Regions from separate parts of the Homo sapiens genome. Here regions 1 and 3 are each linked to region 2. Evidence: promoter capture Hi-C in 16 types of primary human blood cells and fetal thymus (Javierre and others, 2016). All regions are on one chromosome and are shown on one strand. The core of a region is centred on a gene start or on the middle of the fragment in contact, and the rest is flanking DNA. Distances in the headings are between cores, read along the strand shown. Region 1 has its middle 14 kb from the start of SNX14. Region 2 holds the start of TTK (TTK protein kinase). Region 3 holds the start of NT5E (5'-nucleotidase ecto).

Region 1 (3,060 bases), core at 308-2,807, 5.6 Mb after region 2:
AACTGTACCTGTAGTTAGGCAGGAAACCAAAAGGGAACAGAACCTGTCTTTAATACTGTTGAAGAACTCCTAAGAACTTAATTTCTGCAAATTCATGTGAATTTTTACTATTTCAAGGAAAACAGCAAAGGAGGTAGAGGTATGAATGAAATTTGCCAAAACTACACTGTATACATGTGGCTCTAGAGTGGAAATGAAAAGTGTATTCTGCCATTTTTATAGATGACCTTTAACATTGTTTATTTCTGGTTTTCCTCTAAGTATATTCCAAATATTAAATAAAACTGAGAAATACAATTTGTACATATGCTTTTCTAATTTTTCATGACGTGTTAAACTAAAAGCAACTGGAGGCCTAATTCCTGAGTCTTCCAATTAAAGCAACCAATTAACATAAATACTGACATATTAAAGATATTCTCTTAAAAATGATGTCATAAGGGTTTTAGTATACAGATGCACCTAGCTTTAGCAAATTTGTGTTTAAATGATGCAGTACTCATGTAACACAAATGCCATGTTATTCACATTTCAACTTAAAGTTAACACTATTAACGAGCCATAACAGGTATGCTGGAACTCTTCTTGTATATCATGGTGTTTCTATAATTACAAGACCTAATTTTACCATATGGAACCTACAAAACTCTTTAACAAATTTCTTATTGTCAGCAAGCCCTGGTCTTATTCTTTAATCTGTGGTAACAACTTGTCCACACCAAATACTTTGCCCTTCTGCCCTGAAAACTCAAAAACTGCACATCAAAAATGATATAAAACGCCAAATCCCTTAGGTTTCCTAAAATTCTCTCCAAAACAAGTTGAGTTTGTCACAACAATCTCCTTTTCAGAATACAGCTGAAAGCCTAAAAGAAGGCAAGAAATGACAATTCATAAACATTACAGATAACCTTTATAACTCCTTTCTAGATTAGAACCTGTTGTAAGCCACTTTATAGACAAAGTAGAAAATCAGACAGTCAATTAAGTTTACAGTATATTATCCTAAAATAACCTTATTTTGATCCCACTGTGTTAGAAACCCATTTTAGGAAGCTGTAACACTTGGAGACACTAATTTCCAAAATGGTTTATTAGGACTTCTCCCACACTCAAAGTCAAACTTCCAGGACTGTTCTGAAATGATGAAAGCTTCTTTTCGATAATCAATATAAATGTTGTTAATCCAAAATAGAAACTAAAACCTGCACTAAGTGACCTAAAAAGTCTTGTCCTGATGGAAGTGGCCAAAACTGCTCGTCCCGCAACCAAGAAATCCTAGGGGTATAAGCTAAAACCCACAAATATATTGGCAAGTCCCCGATTCTTTCCAAATTACCACTAACTTTATCAAATCCAATGGCAAGTACGGGACAACAGAATATTTCCATCAAAAATTAAGACCAGCCTAATACATTTATTCTATTCATCTTCCAGTAATGTGATTGCAACTGAGGATATCTTGAGGAATTTTTCACCATTGGCTAGTTACTTCGAATGTATGGATAATCAAAGGGCGACAGACCTCTAAAGATTCCAAGTGTCTACTTAAAAGCTGTTAAGTGAAGAGTGATGAATTGGAGGACACCCACAATAATTCTTGGACTCCTGGAGATCCTAAGACATGCTACAAAAATAGGTCTTTATTCTTAGGAAAATATAGTCAGAGCTAGCTTCCTTATGCTATACATAAAATCTTAACATCAGAGGCAGTACAGATAGTACAGATAGTTTTTGAACTGATCTCCAAACAAGCACAAACCCACTACGTTGAAAAGAACAGGTAATTTGAGGTTTTTGGCAAAAGACAGTACTTCACACATCTAATCCAAATCAAAGGGCCTGCAGACAGTTTTCAGTGAGATGAAAGGAATGAAATAAATATAAATTCTACGGATAAATAAAACACAATTTAAATAAGCTAACAGAACTAATTTTTTTAAATAAAAATACTAGTCAGGTACAAGCTTTTGTTTCTCAATGCCAGACTTCTAAATATTTACCAGACTACTGTTAATATTAAAAACCTAATCTTTGACCCAGAGCGTTAGTAATAATACTGGTTTGCATCTGCAAATTTTCAAACTGAATGCTTCTGGTCCTGAAAAATATTTTAGGTGTATTACTGAAGGCAGACTGTGGTGCTAATAGAATTTAAGTCTTAAATACTTTTAAAAAGTGACAGACCCCAAAAGTCCATCTACTAATTTGCTAGTTAAAAAATGCCTGTGAGCACTGCTTCATAATTAGCATCTTAAGAAAAGTAGTGGCATGCCCTATTGAGTGGTATCATCACTGAGTAATTAATACACCTTAAAACAATATCCCCACAAGTCTGTTTCTTTTATGTATTTGTCACTTAATTTCTTTAGTCATTAATTTTACACCCACCAGTGAATTCCTATGGCCAGATGAAAATTTTGTGGTATACATAATTAGAGAGAAAATGATCATGGTGGGTATTCCTGTAAGTTTGACGAACTTGAGAAGTTTTAGCACCCTCCCCTAAATGCATGAAGCCCTTCTATTTAATTTCTCTCCTTAAAATAGAGACTACGTAAAATACTCTGTAATAATAAGGGATCTTTTGCTGTTTCTGACAACTTTTGGCTTCGCAGTCAAAAAAGCTGTTCTGAATGTGTCAATTTTTGCCTATCTAGCTTGATGTTCATTCTATTCTTTAAAAACTTTTATATACAATAACTCAGATCACCCCATCAATCCATTTCTATGTTGTTCCTATTTTATCATGAGGAAACTTTACATTTTAAGTCAGATTCACAGTAACTGGTAGAAAAGTTTCTTAAGCTAAAAACTGCAATCATGAGTGTACAACAGTTGTGTGTGTGCACACTCAATTTTCCCTTCATTTTTAACATCTGATTCAGTGGCAATGGCTGAAAACCTTCCACAAAAAGCATGCTTGGGAGAATATATCTAACAAAATTTTCTCACAAAGCAACTTTCTGAAAACTGATAACCTAAATTTATGATCACTTTTGATTGCCAAGTAGTCTGCAGAAACAAAATCTTGCGTCTGTTTTGGTTAGATAACTTAAG
Region 2 (3,084 bases), core at 65-2,564:
TGGAGTTGAGGAGAGCTCAGCTAATGATACACATTTGGGAGCCATCAACATATAGATGGTATTTAAAAATAGAAGACTGAAGGAGACCACCAAACGAGAGTACAGAAAGAAGTGTTAGGGTGAGGTCATCCAGCAACAGTATTTTAAGGAAAATGCAAGCTTTGTGATCAGGCCGCAAACAGATCAACGAGAATTGGAGGAATAATAAACTCTTTCCAGGCAGAAGCATTAGATGCAATGGTGCAAAGGTAAGTGATTAGCCAACCATGGTATAGCAAGTCATTTTGCTCTGCTGAAGCAGAAATACTAGCTAGCTGACACAGAAAGATGCATTAAGTGATTGAGAAGGGCTCTCACGCTAGCTGGGTGGCTATCCAGAGCTGGGAATGTGAGGGTTCTAAGGATAGCTTTGGAGTTAACAAGTGACAGCTGCAGTTAGTTTCCTATACATACACAAAACCAACCCGTCCTACCACAGAATATATGTCATAATGCTGGCACAACAGACACATCCCTTTTAGTTTTGCAGACGAGGAGTAACCGTTGCCCTGGACCACAAAGCCACTTAGCGGCAGAGCCTCGCACCCGCGAAGATTATTACTAGGGAGATGTTTTTACCCCTGAGGACACCTGAGCCCTTAAGTGGGGCAGGCTTCGAGGGAGGGGGGCCGATAAGGCGACTTCAGACAGGGCAATCACGATGGGCGCTTGAGTTCTGCGCAGAATTTTGACAAGGGGGAGGGTCTTGGCTTGAAGACAGAGCGTGGAGTCATTTAAGGATAATGGAAGGGCATAAGCAGAAGCTCAAGGATAAAAAGCACTGAAATTCTTGAGCTGGCGGCAGGGCTGAACGTAGCTCAGTGAAAGATCCTTTCTTGCCACATCCTCTCTAAGCCAGGCTGTGAGAACCGCGGGAAACGAAGGAGAAGGGTGGCGGTGGGGTCAGTAAAGGGCCGGCCCAAGGTGCATCTTTTAGGTCCTGATGCTAGGAGCAGCCGTCCCTGCCCCTATATTCCTCTCACTGGGTAGGTTTGCTCGGGAGTGGCTACCTCCCAGGCAAAAATTCGGCCTGGTTAAACTGGAAAGACCAGGAAAGCCCGCCCACGGGCGTCCGGGGAACGCCTGCAAAGTGCCAGCACCCTACCAACCCAGGCGCCGCACGGGTGGGGTCGCGGCCGCAGGCTCTTCCGGGGCGGGCCTAGCCTGACGCAGGAGGAGGGGCGGCCCCCGTCGCACAAGAACCAATCACGACTGTCGCTTCTACGTGGCTAGCATTGACCAATAGGAGACCGTAGTGATAGCGACGGGGAAATTCAAACGTGTTTGCGGAAAGGAGTTTGGGTTCCATCTTTTCATTTCCCCAGCGCAGCTTTCTGTAGGTAAGTTCTGTCTTACCGGTGCACCGGCGCACTGAGGAACAGCCGCAGCCGGTGTAGGGGCTCATTGTTAGCGCTGGTCGGTGAGGGGTGGGGCGAGGTGGGGGCAGCTCGGAGCCAGGTATGCGACGCGGCTAAACGAGCTGGAGGGGGAGGGGATGTCTCACTGCCTCAGCGGGTCTGGCCGGTGGGGTGATGCAGGAGGTTTTGTTGAGGAAGTAAGAAGTGGGTGTGGCCCACGCTGGAAAGAAGGGGTGGTGGGGTACCTGCGCACAAGATCGTTTTCCAAAGGACAGTCTCTCTTGTTTTGGGGGTTAGAACTGGGAAAGAAGCGGGTGGCCGTGATCTGACAGTTATCTTTCAAACCTGACTTAAGAGGTGGAGTGATACCTTGCTGCAACTTTATGACTTTTTTTCATTGTTAAACCTGAAGACGGGGCAGCATTGTTATCAGTGACACTGAGTTGGTGTTTGAGAGTCACAAAGATACGATTAACAATAAGACTGCAGACACTTTATTGAACAAACACCACCACCATGCAGATAAGCAAGTGCTCAGTACCAGTACAATAGTTTCTTAGTGTTAGATTAAGGTAGCAAATCGTGATTCTGCTAGATATGCACAAGAATAAATCTGCGGATTTCCTAATTATCAGTAAAGCCCCATCATGTTTATATTCTGCTTTGAAAGCACTTGCACTGGAAGATTTACTCAAGTAAAGCAGGCGAATAAAGGAATTGTTATTCCCATTGCCAAACGAATTCTTTATGTCTATGTCACTACCAGAATCCAAGCAATCTTTATGTGTATGTCGCTACCAAAATCCAAGCAAACACTCTATCATATTTTTTTTAAGTGACACTAAATTTGCAGATTTCTACAGTGTGACGTCATTGATGTTATATTGGGGGAAAAAGTATACTTGGCCTATGAAACCTTGGTGAATAAATTACAAAGATGTGTACCTTGTTGTTGTGCACTTACCTCCATTAATACTAGCCTAATAATAGCTGCATTTAGATGTGTTCACAAAACGAATGCTTTAGTCGTCTGGGTTCTAAAAAGCTAGTGCATTTTTTTCTTTGATGCTAGTTAAAGTAGGAGTTATGACTGTTCAGTTTTTTTCTTAGAAATGGAATCCGAGGATTTAAGTGGCAGAGAATTGACAATTGATTCCATAATGAACAAAGTGAGAGACATTAAAAATAAGTTTAAAAATGAAGACCTTACTGATGAACTAAGCTTGAATAAAATTTCTGCTGATACTACAGGTGAGTTTTTCTTTTCTTTTAAGTTAGTAACTGTTTGTTGGGTATCCTCTAAGGTAAAGATATAGTACTAATCACTTTATTTATAATTTACTCATGTGTTTATTGTCTTTCTCCTCCATTAGAATGCAGGCTACATGATGGCAGGGTTTTTGTCTGTTATATCCACAGAACTTTGAATGGTGTCTGGCACATGGTAGGTAGGCACTTAAACATTTATTGAACAATGATTAATGGGTGAAAATGCCCAGAGTTTAATACTCTAGCTCTTCTAAAAGTATTAGCTCAGAAGCCTGATTCTTTACTGTATTTCAAATGGTTGGTCATTTGAATGGTGACCTTTGGATAATTTTCTTACATCTATACTAACCTTTAAATAGATGAGGAATTGAAAATAAATGGAAGAACCTGTGATCTAATCATGGTGGCTGACTGTTCA
Region 3 (3,251 bases), core at 513-3,012, 5.4 Mb after region 2:
GACAAGAAACAACAAATGATCAGTTCCCCAGTGATCAGTGATAGGTCATGTTGATACCGTGTACCCACAGATACCAGGCAATGAGAAAGGCACATAATCTCTGTAGCATTCTTCCTAAACATCCACAGCTTCAGTCCAATCATGAGAAAACATCAGACAAACCCAAACTGAGGGATAGTATACAGAAACCAGTACTGTTCAAAAGTGTCAAGGTTTTTGAAGACAACTGACTGAGAAACTGTCACAGATTAGAGGAGGCTAAGAACACAGGAAAACTAACTGCAATATGGTATCCTGAATTGGGTCCTGGAATAGAAAACGGACATTAGTGGAACAGTTGGTGAAATTAAAATAAAATCAGTAACACAGTTAATAGTTTCGTATCACTGTTAAGTTTTTAGTTTCATTGGTTATATAAGCTGTTAACATAAGGCAATATGGGTGATGGGTATGTGGGAACTCCCTTTATTACCTTTGCAACTTTTCTGTAAGTCTAAAATCATTCTTTTTTTAAGTTAAAACAGCAAAACTACCAGTTCTTTTACCTGCTTCTAGCAGGTGCTCAAAGAGGGACAGAGCAAAACCTTGCAAAGCATGACATTAGAGGGTGTCCCAGAAGCAAGGGTCTTCTGTAGCCCCAGGCACTGCTGCTCCCAAACTGCATGGCCTTTCTTGGCAAATGATTTACAATCTCCGAACCTCAGGTCAATGTCTTAAAAACGGGCACAGAATGTCTTTTCAACAAATGGTACTAAGAAAACTGGATATCCACATGAAAAAGAGTAAATGTGGACTCATACCACATATGAAAATTAACTCAAAATGGATTAAAGGTCTAAGAGTTTAAATTATAAAACTCTTAGGAGAAAACATAGAGGAAAATCTTCCTAACATTGTATTTGGCTATGACTTCACTGCGACACCGAAAGCACACGCGACAAAATAAAAATAAAATAAAATAAAATAAGACCAGAAAAGCAAAGAAGGGCAGCATCCCTTCCCGTCCTGATAGCTGCCGGATTTTACCCCAATCGTGTTTCTGCTTCCAGGAGCTGTCCGCGCGTCGCCTCTGTTTTATCACTAAGGTTTTAATTGTGAATAAACAAGGAACTGGATTCGAATGATTTCTTAGTTTCTGAGATTTTTTTGTCTAAGCATCGTAGACTTCGTGCGTTCTCAACCCAACAGGAAGCGTCACATCTCAGTGAGCTTCGGCTCTCACAGCCCGAAACTGCAAGGAGCTCCTCTGCCCGGCCTCTCTTTACTCCTCCTCTCTGCCCCTCAGCTCGCTCATCTTTCTTCCCGCCCCCTCTCTTTTCCTTCTTTGGTTCTTTGAAGTGATGAGCTAGCGCAACCACAAACCATACATTCCTTTTGTAGAAAAACCCGTGCCTCGAATGAGGCGAGACTCAGAGAGGACCCAGGCGCGGGGCGGACCCCTCCAATTCCTTCCTCGCGCCCCCGAAAGAGCGGCGCACCAGCAGCCGAACTGCCGGCGCCCAGGCTCCCTGGTCCGGCCGGGATGCGGCCGGTACCCGCTCCCCGCCGGGAACAACCTCTCCACTCTTCCTGCAGGGAGCTGGTGCCAGCCGACAGCCGCGCCAGGGCCGCTCCGGGTACCAGGGTCGGATCGGGTGACGTCGCGAACTTGCGCCTGGCCGCCAAGCCGGCCTCCAGGCTGAAGAAGGACCCGCCCCGGCCTTGACCCGGGCCCCGCCCCTCCAGCCGGGGCACCGAGCCCCGGCCCTAGCTGCTCGCCCCTACTCGCCGGCACTCGCCCGGCTCGCCCGCTTTCGCACCCAGTTCACGCGCCACAGCTATGTGTCCCCGAGCCGCGCGGGCGCCCGCGACGCTACTCCTCGCCCTGGGCGCGGTGCTGTGGCCTGCGGCTGGCGCCTGGGAGCTTACGATTTTGCACACCAACGACGTGCACAGCCGGCTGGAGCAGACCAGCGAGGACTCCAGCAAGTGCGTCAACGCCAGCCGCTGCATGGGTGGCGTGGCTCGGCTCTTCACCAAGGTTCAGCAGATCCGCCGCGCCGAACCCAACGTGCTGCTGCTGGACGCCGGCGACCAGTACCAGGGCACTATCTGGTTCACCGTGTACAAGGGCGCCGAGGTGGCGCACTTCATGAACGCCCTGCGCTACGATGCCATGGTAAGACCCGAGCCCGCGCCCGGGATAGTAGTCCCGGACTGAGAGAGGAGCCGGGCTGGAAAAGCAGCGGATGGCAGAGTGTGGCAAGCCTAGGTCCAGGGCGCGGAGAGATGTGGGGATAAAGTGAGACTCCGGCCAGTGTGCCAGCTGGATGCATAGAAGTCCCTTGGACGATTCGTCTTAAACGGACGTTATTGCGCCCCCACTATGAGATGGGAGTATTTAGAGGAGCAGGACCCAGTCCTGCCTGCGAGGGGCTTAAGGTGGGGTGCGTAGAAGCACTGACAGTTATCCAGAGCTAGGGACTGAATCGGATCCCTCACGCAGCTCTCATTTACTGCTAGATCTTTCAAAGAATGCTTTATCTCAATCTAGATCTTTCGAAAAATGCTTTATCTCAATCTTATTGAAAGGGAAACCGCGTCGAAGAAGCTGAATAAATTAACAGGCACCATCCCCGCAAAAAGGGAGACGTGATAAGAATGGACACCAGATCTCTTTGACCCCGGAGCTTGAGAGTAATTAAGCTCACAGCTTTGGGGTAGATTCTCTGTTCAATTACCTTCTATGTGACCTTGAGCAAGTTATTTACTCTTTCTTGCCTCAGTTCTATCCTGTATAAAAATAAGGATTATAATTGTACATAGTGCACATAGTGTGGTCTCTATATTATTACCAGACACATAGTGTGGTGTCTATATATGTTGTTATTACCAGACACTATAATATAGGGTTAAGAAAAGGAAAGAAAGAAAGAAAGAGAAAGAAAGAAAGAAACTTCAGAGAGAGCCAAAATGTGGAAAGACTTGGGTTTCAAAGGATTTCAATAAAGTAGGTTTGGCGGCAGAGATTTAGGAAGAGTCCAACTTAAGAGATAATGGGCTCTTAAAACATGTGCAAAAGTTTAGTTCAAAGTCCCAAATGTTAGGTTAAAGGTAATGCCTTTTCTATTGCACTAAATTCTAGAAAGGGAGCAGAGGTGGTTGCACAGTAATAAATAAGTACAACCAAGATGTATATATGGTGGTTAAAAAAAAAATAAAACCACCACCCAAATTTAACCCTGTGTAAAAGCCTTGAGTAAAGGGATTCA

Evidence for each region. The method cuts DNA at HindIII sites, captures the fragments that hold promoters and counts their contacts. A CHiCAGO score of 5 or more calls a contact.
Region 1: a contact is called between a fragment that was not itself captured here and the fragment with the promoter of TTK in region 2, in 1 of 17 cell types (total B cells). The highest score is 6.4, in total B cells.
Region 3: a contact is called between the fragment with the promoter of NT5E here and the fragment with the promoter of TTK in region 2, in 1 of 17 cell types (total B cells). The highest score is 6.2, in total B cells.

What each region holds. Positions count from the first base shown.
Region 1 is chr6:85,606,709-85,609,768 of GRCh38, forward strand. It overlaps a transcript of SYNCRIP not described here. Among named protein-coding and RNA genes, the nearest start is that of SNX14, 14 kb to the left of the region's middle. The HindIII fragment of the contact is 815 bases long and covers 1,151-1,965 here.
Region 2 is chr6:80,003,335-80,006,418 of GRCh38, forward strand. TTK (TTK protein kinase) reads left to right here and starts at 1,315. Exons shown (of 22, transcript NM_003318.5): 1 at 1,315-1,379; 2 at 2,508-2,648. The coding sequence starts at 2,510. RefSeq lists enhancers at 352-1,226, 797-916. The HindIII fragment of the contact is 2,460 bases long and covers 158-2,617 here.
Region 3 is chr6:85,448,321-85,451,571 of GRCh38, forward strand. NT5E (5'-nucleotidase ecto) reads left to right here and starts at 1,763. Exons shown (of 9, transcript NM_002526.4): 1 at 1,763-2,158. The coding sequence starts at 1,820. RefSeq lists a silencer at 1,556-1,825. The HindIII fragment of the contact is 6,289 bases long and covers 1-3,251 here.